Linked DNA regions of Homo sapiens: all the other regions are linked to region 2. The links are contacts of gene promoters, found by promoter capture Hi-C in human tissues and cell types (Jung and others, 2019). All regions are on one chromosome and are shown on one strand. Each heading gives the region's core, a stretch centred on a gene start or on the middle of the fragment in contact. The rest is flanking DNA. Distances are from core to core; before and after follow the strand shown.

Region 1 (3,186 bases), core at 512-3,011, 190 kb before region 2:
CTGGCCAACATAGTGAATCCCCGTCTCTACTAAAAATACAAAAATTAGCCGGGCATGGTGGCATGCGCCTGTAGTCCCAGCTACTCAGGAGGCTGAGGCAGGAGAATCACCTGAACCCGGGAGGCAGAGGTTGCAGTGAGCTGAGATTATGCCACTGCACACCAGCTTGGGCAACAGAGCAAGACTCCATCTCAAAAAAAAATAAAAAATCAGCTTTATAAGGTATAATTTATGTACATTAAAATTTACCATTTCAAGTGTATAGTTTGATACATTTTGATAAATGTATGTAGTCTATAGCCTCCACTACAATTACAATATATAGAATATTTCCGTTACCCAAGAAGGTCCTCCATGCCCTTTTGCAGTCCCTCTCCTCCCCTCCCAGCCCCTGGCAATGCTGATCTTCCTTCTGTCCTTGTAATTTTGCCTTTTTAAAGTTTCACAGAAGAAGAATCACACAGCACCTAGTTTTGTGAGTTTCTTAGCATAATGCTTTTGAGGTCCATCCAAGTTTTTGAAAGTATTAATAGTCCATTTCTGCCGGGTGCACTCACCTGTAATCCTGGCACTTTGGGAGACTGAGACGGGTGGATCACTTGAAGCTAGGAGTTTGAGACCAACTTGGCCAACATGGTGAAACCCCATCTCTACTAAAAATACAAAAATTAGCCAGATGTGGCATGTGCCTGTAATCCCAGCTACTCAGAAGGTTGAGGCACAAGAATTGCTTGAACTTGGGAGGCGGAGGTTGCAGTGAGCAACATCGGGAGGCGGAGGCTGCAGTGAGATCGCGACACTGCACTCCAGCCTGGGCGACAGAGTGAGATTCCATCTCAAAAAAAAAAGTTATTTTTTTTATTTTATTACATATATAAAATTATATATGTATATATTAAATATTATAAAAATACATACAACTATTATAAAAATAGAATAAAAATAAATATTATAAAATATAAAAAATAAGTAGTATAAAAATTATAAAAATATTTTATATATATTTAGCCAGAGTCTCGCTCTGTCACCCAGGCTGGAGTGCAGTGGTGAGATCTCGGCTCACTGCAACCTCCGCCTCCCGGGTTCAAGCGATTCTCCTGCCTCAGCTTCCCGAGTAGCTGGGATTACAGGCATGCACCACTACGCTCAGCTAATTTTTGTATTTTTAGTAGAGACAGGGTTTCACCATGTTGGCCAAGTTGGTCTCAAACTCCTAATATAGGTGATCTGCCCGCCTCGGCCTCCCAAAATGCTGGGATTACAGGCGTGAGCCACAGAACTCGACCTATATATATTTATATATAAATTAAAATATAAAAATAAAAATAACATATATATTATTAGAGAAAGGGACTTTCTCTGTTTCCCAGGCTGGAGTGCAGTGGTGCAATCATAGCTCATTTCAGCCTCGAATTCCTGAGACTCAAGGGATCCTCCCAGCTCAGCCTCCTGAGTAGTGTAGTATAGGCATATGCCGCCATGCCCAGATAATTATTTTTTATTTTTTATTTTTTCTACCAACCCCTGCCTTTTTTTTTTTTTTTTTTGAGACAGGGTCTTACTTTGTTGCCTAGGCTGGAGTGCAGTGGTGTAGTCCTAGCTCACTGCAGCCTCGACCTCCCAGGCTCAAGGGATCCTCCTGCCTTAGCCTCCCAAGTAGCTAGGACTACAGGTATATGCCACTACGCCCTGCTAATTTTTGTAGAGATGGGTCTCACTATGTTGCCCATGGTCTTTATAATTTAATTATATATATATATAAATTAAAAATAATATTACACTTACAGAAAACTTAGCACTACTATAAATGGAAAACCTTTATACCTTATCATAAATCAACACAGGCAAAAATATTAAAAAGAATAATTTTTAAAGTTACACAATTCCAGCTAGCTCCTGTTGCCTGCTATCTTAGATTCTCTAGAAGTCAAGCCAGGGCTTGAGTATAAGGTGGGGATTCTTGTGCAAGTGATTTACAGGGGGGACTCCTGGTGAAGGAGGGAGGGAAACAGAAAGAGGCTAAGCAAAGGCGTGGGGCCAGCTGAAGCTCTGGAACAGGAATGGGACCAGAGTTGAACCACCTCAAGGCATGAGGGCTGGGCTTTTGTGCCTGGCATCAATCAGTCGTTGCCGCATACTTCCTCTCGGGATGATGGTATAATCTCCCACCTATTTCCAGGTGAGGCAATTTCCAAAAGAAGGGTGTGGCTGTAAAGTGCTAGCTGCCAACATTCACAGCAGCTGGGAGGTGAATGTATCAACTAGGTGACGGGGATTAGGCAGGACCAGCAGCATCTATTATACCAGTACCAGCCAAAGGCTTTAACCTAAGTTTTCCTCTCTTTTTGCTTTAGACAGGGTGTCACTCTGTCATCCAGGCTGGAATGTGCAGTGGTACAGTCATGGCTCACTGCAACCTCAAACTCCCAGGCTCAAGGGATCCTCCTGCCTCAGCCTCCCAAGTAGCTAAGACTACAAGCACACATCACTATGCCCAGCTAATTTTTTATTCTTTGTAGAGATGGGGGTCATCACTATGATACTCAGGCTGGTCTTGAACTCCTGGACTCAAGCAATCCTCCCGCATAGGCCTCCCAAAGCGCTGAGATTACAAGCGTGAACCACCACACCTGTCTGGTTTGCTATCTTTTGGAGTTAAAAAGAAATGAGAAAACGTGGCCAGGCACGGTGGCTCACACCTGTAATCTCAGCACTTTGGGAGGTCGAGGCTGGTGGATCACTTGAGGTCAGGAGTTTGAGACCAGCCTGGCTAGCGTGAAACCCCGTCTCTACTAAAAATACAAAAATTAGCTGGGAGTGGTGGTGCATGCCTGTAGTCCCAGCTACTTAGGAGGCTGAGGCAGGAGAATTGCTTGAACCCAGGAGATGGAGGTTGCAGGTTGCAGTGAGCCTACATCACACCACTGCACTCCAGCCTGGGCAACAGAGCTCTGTCTCAAAAAAAAAAAGAAAGAAAAAAGAAATTAGAAAATGTTAGAGTGATGTTAAAGACAGGTTAGCACCAAATAGAGACTTTCTCCTTAATGTCGTCAGATGATGGGAAAGAGAATTGAAAATAGACTAGCTTTCTTACTGATACACTGTTCCTTCATGCTCTGCCTGGTCTTTTTGCCAGCTCAGGTGGCCCAGTGCATCCCACACTTTGGGAAACACTGCTGTAAGGCT
Region 2 (3,281 bases), core at 763-3,262:
ATACAATTTATCAAAGAGTACTGAAACTTGGAATGTGACCAATTCCACTCAGGCAATAACCAAAGCAGGTCAGATGGGAGCCAAAATATTTTCCATGCTTGAGAAAATCAAGGCTTTTACAATATAAATGAATACTGGGCTGCTGTGGAAGGTTTGTTGGTCTTTGTTGCTTTGTTTTGCTTTCTTTTAACGGGGGTGGGGGGAGGTACCAGTCTCCTTTGAGAATCTGAAGAAAGCAAAGGATTCTCCTAAAAAAATGTACATAGTCACAAGATTTTGAGGAAAAATAAGACATGTCCAACCCTCCGGAAATCCATTCAGAGTCAGGAACCCCTAATTTAAAAATAAGGGATAACTGCCAGGAAAGGAGAAGCTCTAAACTGAAAACACAACACCTCCAGTAGAGTTAGGAATAGGAGGCGGGTGCTTGGCAGGTGAGTTTGAAGATACTTGTTGAGAGCATACGATATACCAGCATTGTCCAATAAAAATATAATGTGGACCACATATAAAATTTTAGTGGCCACATTATAAAGTAAAAACAGCAGAAATCTTAACATTTTATTAACCCCAAGTACTCAAAATATTACCTTTCCAACATTTAATCCATATAAAATGTATTAATCAAAAAGTTTTTTCAAAATCTGGCGTGTATTGTACACTTACAGCACATTTAGGGTGACCAACCTCCTGGTTTCCCTGGGACGGAGGGGCTAAAACATAGGACTTTCAATGCTAAAACAGACAATCGCAGCAAACCAGGACAACTGGCAATTCTATCATCTCAATTTGACGAGCCACATGCACTACACAGTACTGGACAGCAAAGTCATCCATCATGCATGGTGCAAAGTGGAATATACACATTATTCAATTTATTCTTCATAACTTGCCTAAGAGATGGATGCTGTCAGTTTCCAAATTGCAGAATAAAAGAAATAGAGGTTAAAGCTCTCACCCAAAGTCACACCAATAGGGCGAGGGTACTGGGCAATATAGTAGTAAGCCTGGGGCCTAAGAAATGTTATGAGTGAAGGAGCAGAGGTGAGAAGCTAGGAAAGTTCCAGAAAGGGGGACCAGCGAAAATGTGAGCAGTAAAGGCCCTTTACAAAGGGAAACAGAAGGATTAGGGGGAGAAGGAGAAGGGTGGCAGGGAGTATAGAAGAAAGGCACCCACAAATAGTGCAGTTTAGGAATGAAACAGGAAAAGTTAAAACTCACGGAGCAGAGAATGCCTCAGCGGACAAAAATGATGGGTGACAGAAAAGGGGAGGCGGATAGGAGTAAAGGGCAGTGGGGAGAAAGGTGAAAAGCGAAGGCAAGTGAAGGCAGAGATCACCGGGGAGAAAGAAAGGGCCTGGAAAGTTAAAAGCACTGGCCTAGGAGGCTGAAGACCGAGGGCGAGGAATTGCGGAGAGGGGGAAGAGGATTCAAATTAAATTATCCAGAACGGTAGGGAACTGCGTAGTTTCACCAGGTGTCAGGCACTACTTCATGAACGATCTCATTCATGGTCATGGGGCAGGTATCTGACATCCCCATTTTGCAAGTGATAGCACCAGAGAGGCGGAACCGAGCCGCGAAGGCCGCCCCGAACTGAGCCTCGCGCTCAAGGCAGGCCGTGGCCTGGGCCCAGGTCCCCGGAGGAGGCCGCGCCGCCCGCCGCCGCCGCGGGGGCAGCCAGGCCTACCTGTGCAGCGGCGGCAGGTCCTGCGCGTCGCTGGCGGGGTCAGGCGTGTTGGGGATGACGCCCAGGATGGTGCTTTGCAGCGACGTGCCCTTCAGAAGGCGGCTCCGCACCAGCTGCAGGTTGCGGGCCGAGTCCACGCTGGTGCGCATGGTGGAGCCGGGCAGCAGGACGCCCTCGTGGGTGAGCAGCAGCGGGAGGCGACTGGGGATCTGGATGGGGCTCACTGATGACATGCTGGCAGCCTTTCGCACTGGGGGCTGTCAAAAAGAGCCAGACAGACAGCTGCCCCCGGCCTGCCCCGCAGTCACCAAACCTCAGACCCGCCTCCACGCCTCCGCTTCCGGCTACGCGCTACGGTCCGTCCCCGGGCCCAAAAGCCATGGCTTCGCGCTGCTCTCTAGGAGAGCCTCCCGGTAAGACTTGAGCGTCCTACCTATGCGGAAAGACGTGCACTCAAGCGTGCAGCGACCTTCGCCTCACTTACAGAGTATATTTGGAAGGATGATCTTATTTGAATTGTATATACTTGAAGTGTTTTTAACGTTTTCTTCGATTTTTTACATATACTTGAAGTGTTTTTAACTTTTGATTCGAACTAATTATTTATTTATTTATTTATTTATTTATTCTGAGACAGATTCTCGCTCTGTCGCGGAGGCTGGAGTGCAATGGCGCGATACCCACGGCTTGCAGCCTCTGCCTCCCGGGTTCAAGCGATTCTCCTGCCTCAGCCTCCCGAGTAGCTGGGATTACAGATGCCCGCCACCACACCCAGCTAATTGTTGTATTTTTAGTAGGGAGGGGATTTCACCATGTTGGCCAGGCTGGTCTTTAACTCCTGACCTCAAGCGATCCGTCCACCTCGGCCTCCCAAAGTGCTGGGATTACAGGCGTGAGCCAACGTGCCCGGCCCGAATTGATTTTAGATGTACAAAACTACAGCAGAGTTCCTATATACCTTTCACCCAGTTTCGTCTGTTATCATCTTACATAATCATAGTTCAATGATCAAAACCAGGAAATTAACATTATTATCGTTTAACCTATAGGCCTTACCCAAATTTTGCCAGTTTTCCCACTAATGTCCTTCATTGGATCTGGTCCAGGATCCAATATCCAGGATCCTGTTGTGAAATCTCCTAGGTGTTTTGTTATGAAATCTCCTAGGTGTTCTCTAATCTGTGGCAAGTCCTCAATTTTTTTTTTTTTTTTTTTTTTTTGAGACGGAGTCTCGCTCTGTCACCCAGGCTGGAGTGTAGTGGCGAGATCTCGGCTCACTGCAAGCTCCGCCTCCCGGGTTCATGCCATTCTCCTGCTTCAGCCTCCCGAGTAGCTGGGGACTACAGGCACCCGCAACCACGCCCGGCTAATTTTTTGTATTTTTAGTAGAGACGGGGTTTCGCCATGTTAGCCAGGATGGTCTCAATCTCCTGACCTCGTGATCTGCCCGCCTTGGCCTCCCAAAAGTGCTGGGATTACAGGCCTGAGCCACTGCGCCCGTCCAATTTTTTTTTTTTTTACAACCTTGATACTTTTATTTTTTTTCTGTTTTTAATTTAATTTTATTTTTTATTATAGTTTAAGTTCTAGG
Region 3 (3,348 bases), core at 349-2,848, 140 kb before region 2:
GGCAGAGGTTGCAGTGACCAAGATCTCACCAGTGCACTCCAACCTGGGTGACAGAGTAAGACTCCGTCTTGGAAAAAAAAAAAAAAAAGAAAAAAGAAAAAGGCTAAATTCTGACAAGTGTAAAGAAAAGATTTGGATCCATGGAAATGAGCATCTGTGGGTTGGGCATGAGGCAGGGGTTGTACCTAATGCACTGGACAGTTATCACTGCATTCCAATGAACTCAAGAACAACAATTACTTAAACTAATTGTCAGTATCACCTACTTCCACCAGCTACATAAAAACCTCAATGATTTTCTAATTTTTTTTTTTGATACAAGGATCTTGCTCTGTTGCCCAGGCTGGAGTGCAGTGGTGTGATCTCTGCTCACTGCAACCTCCACCTCCTGGGTTCAAGTGATTGTCCTGCCTCAGCCTCCCGAGTAGCTGAGATTACAGGCATCCACCACCACACCTGGCTAATTTTTGTAGTTTTAGTAGAGACGAAGTTTCACCATGTTGGCCAGGCTGGTCTCCAAATCCTGACCTCAGGTGATCTGCAGGCATTGGCCTCCTAAAGTGCTGGGATTACAGGCGTGAGCCACCGTGCCCGGCTCTAACTTCTTGAAAAATGTGATGCCTAGCATGTAACCTTTTTCCTAAAGAAACTTGATTATATTGAAGGAAAACTACAGTTATGGGCGAACTCATTTCCCAACCACTTGGGCTTTTGGGAACTTCCTTCAGCTACTTCCTGTTTCATTCTTGGATGCTCATGTTGTGTCTCTAACTTCTCCACCATGTCCAGGAAAATTTGTTTGGGATACTGTTTAACACATTCACCAACCTCAGACAGTGACTGGCAACAGGTGTGTCTGATAAAGAAAACATTGTTTCTGCTCTGCTGTAGGCATGTCTGACAAGTTGGGGACCTGCTTTCCTTTGCAAAGCTTATAGGAGTCTATTTGGGAGGGAGGAACCGCCTTCCAGTTTCCAGGCTGAAAAAGATTCTGTTTCGCTACCAGCAGAGCCAGGCTTGGAAGGGAATGCTAATATGTTTCCAGACCTATCCACCTAAGCTGAATGACAAATGGGTATCAGTGGTTTAATGTAAGAGGAGATAGCTATAGTTTCCTGGGCAAGAGACATCTGTGATTGCCTGGAAACAAACACAGCCCATCGGTGATTCAATAGATGGGTTTGGTCTTGTGAACTGGTCTATTGTAAAATAACTATATTGACATGAAGACACTTGGAAATCATCTGTTCAGTCTTAACTAGTTTAGCCAACTTTGACAGCATTATCTGAGAGGCTGAGGCACAAGAATCGCTTGAACCCAGGAGATGGAGGTTGCAGTGAGCCGAGATTACAAAATAAATAAATAAATAAATATCAATTTAATATAAATTCATAGCAAAACCCCCAAATAAAGATACTCTCATCAGTGCCTGTTTTATTTATTCATTTATTTTTATGTTTTTAGAGATGGAGTGTCCCTCTGTCACCCAGATGGGAGTGCAGGGGCACAATCATAGCTCACTATGGCCTCAAATTCCCAGGTTCAAGCAATCCTCTCATTTTGGCCTCCTGATTAGATGAGATTACAGGCGCACACCACCCTGCCGGGCTAATTTTTAAACTTTTTATAGGGACGGGGTCTTGCTATGTTCTTAGGTTGGTCTGGAACTTCTGGGCCTCAAGCGATCCTCTTGCCTTGGCCTCCCAAAGTGCTGGGATTACAGGTGTGAGCCACCGTGCCTGGCCAGTGCCTGTTTTATTCATAAGAGGAAAGTAATTTACATCACTGGTACCTTAACTACGGGCCAGATGCAGGACCAGAGCGTTATGTTCCATTGCAATAGATGGAATTACCATTTGATGTGATTTGAGGGGACCAGGAAGGCTCCCTATCCAGATGTGGCCTGAAAATATTTGTCACCGTTACTGAAATCCCATCAATTGGAGGATTATTTGGATAGGCTTTACAGTTTACAAAATGCTTTTCTATGGATAAACTGTCAAGGAAGCAGAGTCAACTCCCTGTTCAGAAAAGGTGCTTAGTTACCCCCACAGTGGAGCTATTTTCTTTCAAATGGAAGGTACATTTTTTTGAGAGGGGGAGTAAATTAAATTTATAATGGTGATGTTTATGTCCCACCCATAGCTACCACCCAGAATTAACCAAATCAGATTGAGCCCCGCCCAAATCTAGGTAGGAATTCTCAGAGATGGAATTAACCCGATTAAATTTGTTTTGTATAAAAGGGAAGTGGGGAAAGTAAGAAGTAACTTGGACTCTTCTAGAGGAGAGCAGGCACAAACTAAGCCAAGAAAAGCACGTTTGAGAATTCCAGAGGCAGAAGTTGCTTCTGGGTGCCTGACGTCAACGATCCAGCACTTCAAGACTGGTGTGCGGCATCCTCAGGGGACACTGTGTCCTGGGCACCCCTGCAGTTTAAGAGAATCCACTAGTTTATAAGGTAAGTCCTCGACTGTCAGCAGTGGGCCAGAGACAGACTGTTATTTTCAGATGGACAAATGCTGTTGGGTAGAGGAAGGGATGCGGGATAAGGAGGACAAAATCTGACTTTGGCAAAGCCGGGTGTTTAGAACTTTAATCGCCACGTTGGCAAGTTCTCTCTTAGTCCGTATCCATTTCACTGCTTGCAGAGCGGCCCAGGGGTTCTGGGGGCGAGAAACACATCTCACCCCAGAGCTGCTCCTCGCCCAGGACAGAACTCCTCTGCCCTTCACGACCAGGTCAAGGCCACATGGCTATGCCAAGCACATAGTCTGTAAAAATGGAAAATTTACCTCTAAACTGAAGTGAACCGAACTCTATTGACCTTCCCGTGTACTGAGGAGCTATAACTTCTCCCCAAAAATGTGAAAGTAAAATTGCAGTTTAAATCATGTAATTAGGAATACTGTAAACTAGTGTTTTGCACATATAAACTTTATCATACACTGGGAATTTGTACATACGTGCCCGGTATGGGATTTTTCTATTTTTATTTTTATTTTTTTGAGACAGAGTCTCGCTCTGTTGTCCAGGCTGGAGTGCAATGGCCTGATCTCTGCCTCACTGCAACCTCTGCCTCCCGGGTTCAAGCGATTCTCCTGCCTCAGCCTCCGAGTAGCTGGGACTACAGGCGTGCACCACCACGCCCGGCTAATTTTTGTATTTTTAGTAGAGATAGGGTTTCACCATGTTGGCCAGGCTACTCTCGAACTCCTGACCTCAGGTAATCCATCGGCCTCGGCCTCCCTAAGTGCTGGGATTACAGGCGTGAGCCACCGCGTCCGGACGGAATACCATTTTAATAGATCTTACATGGAATTCCAGTTAGGGCTTGTAAATGTCTC
Region 4 (3,338 bases), core at 632-3,131, 240 kb before region 2:
CTCCTCCCTTTCTGTCCACTCAGATCACGAGAAATAGTTTGGCTGCACCAGTCAGTGACAGCCTCGGGATGGACCAAGTCCTTTATAATCTGCTACTTAGCTGTGTGATCTTGGACAAGTTACTTAACACATCTCAGCCTCAGTTTCCTCAGCTGAAAAATGGTGTTAATAAGAAGGCCTGTCACCACCAGGCGCAGTGGCTCACACCTGTAATCCCAGCACTTTGGGAAGCTGAGGCAGGTGGATCACTTGAAGTCAGGAGTTTGAGACCAGCCCGGCCAACAGGGTGAAACCCCATCTCTACTAAAAATACAAAAGTTAACCAAGCATGGTATGGTGGCTCGTGCCTGTAATCCTAGCTACTCGGGAGGCTGAGGCATGAGAATCCCTTGAACCCAGGAGGTAGAGGTGCAGTGAGCCGAGACTGTGCCACTGCGCTCCAGCCTGGGGGACAGAGCAAGACTCTTGTTTTAAAATAAAATGTGTGTTGGGGGGGTGCTATCACTTAGGGTTAATGAGAGAATTCAGTTAAGCCATATGGAGCACTTAGCAGAGTTTCAGGCATACTGTCAGTGACCCCCCAAAAAAACCCAAAAACAGTTATTATTGTGCTGCTGAAAAAGTGGGGTGGGCACAGCAGCACTACAGATGTGATATCAACTGCCTGGTCAACCTGAGCCATCCCTAAGGGCCCAAAACAGGGAGAGGGGTGAGAAGGAACAGGGTATCCAGATCCCCAGTGATCATGGGTCACTATCAAGAGAAGGCAGCCTCTGCATTTACTGCTGGCTATATACCCATGGCCTGCCCTGAAAAGCCACGTGGTTCACTCTGGGCAAAAGTGTTCCAGCTTACTGGATGCACCAGTAATAACTGTAATACTTCATTGTAATAATTCATATGTAACTTAAAATGTGTACAATCATTCATTCATTTATTGATCAGTAACCACTTACTAATCACCTACTGTGTGCCAGCCACTAGAACCTGGGGTTACAGCAACAAATAAGACACACAGTGGCTGGGTGCAGTGGCTCATGCCTGTAATCCCAGCACTTTGGGAAGTCAAGGTAGGTGGATCAGTTGAGCTCAGGACTTTGAGACCAGCCTGGGCAACATCGTGAAACCCCATCTCTACAAAAAAATACAAAAATTACCCGGGCATGGTGGTGCACGCCTGTGGTTCCAGCTACTCGGGAGGCTGAGGTGGGAGGATCACTTGAGCTGGGGAGGTTGAGGCTGCAGTGAGCTGAGATGGTGCCACTGCACCCAGCCTGAACAACAGAGAGAGACCGTCTCAAAAAAAAAAAAAAAAATCACACAGCATTCCTGCTGTCATGGAGCTTATATTCTAAAGGGGCTTTGCCACATGATGCCTGTGTCCTTAACTTCTTGTCATTTAACCTTTTGATGCCTCAGTTTCCTAACCTAGGACATGGAGATAGTAATAACAGCCACCTCAGAAAGTTGTCATGAGTTTTGAATGTGTTACTATCATAAAGCACTTAGAACAGTGCAAAGCATGGAGTAAGCACTGTGTAAATGCTGACTATCATTATTCAGAGGAAGGCTGAATGAGAAACAGGTTTGGCGAAGAAGATCAAGAGTCTCCTTTGGGTGCTTGTTAATGCTGAGGTATCAGCTGAATATCCAACTTAGGATTATTGATCGGGAGTTCAGATATGTCTGGAGGTCAACAGACAGGTCTGAGTTGGAGGTATAAATCTAGGGGTAATTGGTGTATTGTTGGTATTTAAAGTCCTGAAATTAATTGAGAACAGGCTCAGGGACTCACACCTATAATCCCAGTATTTGGGAGGCCAAGGTGGGAGGATTGTTTGAGGGCAGGAATTTGACACCAGCCTGGGCAACGTAGCAAGACCCCATCTCTACAAACAAAAACTAAGAAAAATCAGCCAGGCACAGTGGTGTGCACTTGTAGTCCCAGCTACTTGGGAGGCTGAAGCAAGAGAATTGCTTGAGCATAGGAGGTGTTTTGTTTTGTTTTGTTTTGTGTGTGTGTGTGTGTGTTTTGTTTTTTGGTTTTTGGTTTTTTCTTTTTTAGACAAACTCTCCCTCTTTTCCCCAGACTGGAGTGCAATGGCACGATCTCGGCTCACTGAAACCTCCACCTCCCAGGTTCAAGTGATTCTCTTGCCTCAGCCTCCTGAGTAGCTGGGATTACAGGTGTGCACCACCACACCCGGCTAAGTTTGTATTTTTAGTAGAGGCAGGGTTTCACCATGTTGGCCAGGCTGGTCTCGAACTCCTGACCTCAGGTGATCCGCCTGCCTCAGCCTTCCAAAGTGCTGGGATTACAGGCGTGAGCCCACTGTGCCTGCCTGAGCCCGGGAGCTTGAGGCTACAATGAGCTATGATTGTGCCGCTACATTCCAGCATGAGCAACAAAGCAAGACCTTGTGTCTTTTTTTTTTTTAAGCAAATTAATTGAGATCACCAAAGGAGTAGAGATAGAGAAGAGAAACATCCCAAAGACTGAGCCCTGGGGCACCCCAAAGTTTAAGACTTGGGGCTTTGAGGAGGAATAAACAAAGGAGACTGAGAAGGGGCAGCGAGAGAGATAGGAAACCTCAAGAGTATGGGGTTCTGGAAGCTGAGCGAAGAAAAGCTTTGCAAGAAAGAGAGGAGTCAACTGTCAAATGCTCCTGAAGGCAAAGTGAGACAAGAGCTGAGAGTGGTCATTCAATGTGGCCATAGGATGGTCACTGGTAACCTTGGAGCAGTTCTGGTGAACAGGTAGAGACAAATGCTGTGTTGGAGAATATTTAAGAGAGAATGGGAGGACTTGCTGAGCATAGTATAGATATCTCTTTTGAGATGTAAAGGAAAACAAAGAAATGAGAGGTAGAAAGGAATATGAGGTCAAGGAAATTTTCTTCATTTGTTTGTTTTCACTTCTGTAAGATGGGCTTTATTTCACAATATTTGTAGTGATATGTATGTGTATTTGAAGTGTTCCTTTATGGGACATTTCAACAACGTAGTTTTATCATGGAAAAGTATAGAGATCTAGGAGAAAATGTCATGTTCTATGTCACACCATTGCATGAGGTTGGAAGTCATTTTAAATATATTGAGTAAAGTAGGGAAATTAATTCAAGGGTCCAAAAAGTTAGGCCATTGGTGTTTAATAGTTGATGTTACAGAATCATTGTAGAGCCTCGTACTTGAACATACACATTAGTCTGGTGTGACATATACGACGGTACATTGCATCTGAAAGAGAAGAGGAAAGCTGATAACTCAGAAGGAATAGAAGCAAAAATTGAAAAGCTCTTACTTGAAGGATGATGGGAAAGGGCTTTATGAAAGTCTTG

The links. Contacts are between HindIII fragments. The study calls those that stand out against the background at their distance.
Region 1: a contact is called between a fragment that was not itself captured here and the fragment with the promoter of LONP2 in region 2, in 1 of the 25 tissues and cell types used here (spleen).
Region 3: a fragment that was not itself captured here is called in contact with the fragment with the promoter of LONP2 in region 2 in 1 of the 25 tissues and cell types used here (spleen).
Region 4: a fragment that was not itself captured here is called in contact with the fragment with the promoter of LONP2 in region 2 in 1 of the 25 tissues and cell types used here (hippocampus).

What each region holds. Positions count from the first base shown.
Region 1 is chr16:48,437,604-48,440,789 of GRCh38, reverse strand. No RefSeq gene overlaps it. Among named protein-coding and RNA genes, the nearest start is that of SIAH1, 54 kb to the right of the region's middle. The HindIII fragment of the contact is 6,532 bases long and covers 1-3,186 here.
Region 2 is chr16:48,243,031-48,246,311 of GRCh38, reverse strand. LONP2 (lon peptidase 2, peroxisomal) reads right to left here and starts at 2,012. Exons shown (of 15, transcript NM_031490.5): 1 at 1,691-2,012. The coding sequence starts at 1,923. All of the region lies in intron 1 of ABCC11 (ATP binding cassette subfamily C member 11), which reads left to right. RefSeq lists an enhancer at 1,987-2,076. The HindIII fragment of the contact is 28,002 bases long and covers 1-3,281 here.
Region 3 is chr16:48,386,168-48,389,515 of GRCh38, reverse strand. It overlaps a transcript of SIAH1 not described here. Among named protein-coding and RNA genes, the nearest start is that of SIAH1, 2.4 kb to the right of the region's middle. The HindIII fragment of the contact is 6,781 bases long and covers 1-3,348 here.
Region 4 is chr16:48,487,787-48,491,124 of GRCh38, reverse strand. No RefSeq gene overlaps it. Among named protein-coding and RNA genes, the nearest start is that of SIAH1, 100 kb to the right of the region's middle. The HindIII fragment of the contact is 3,451 bases long and covers 156-3,338 here.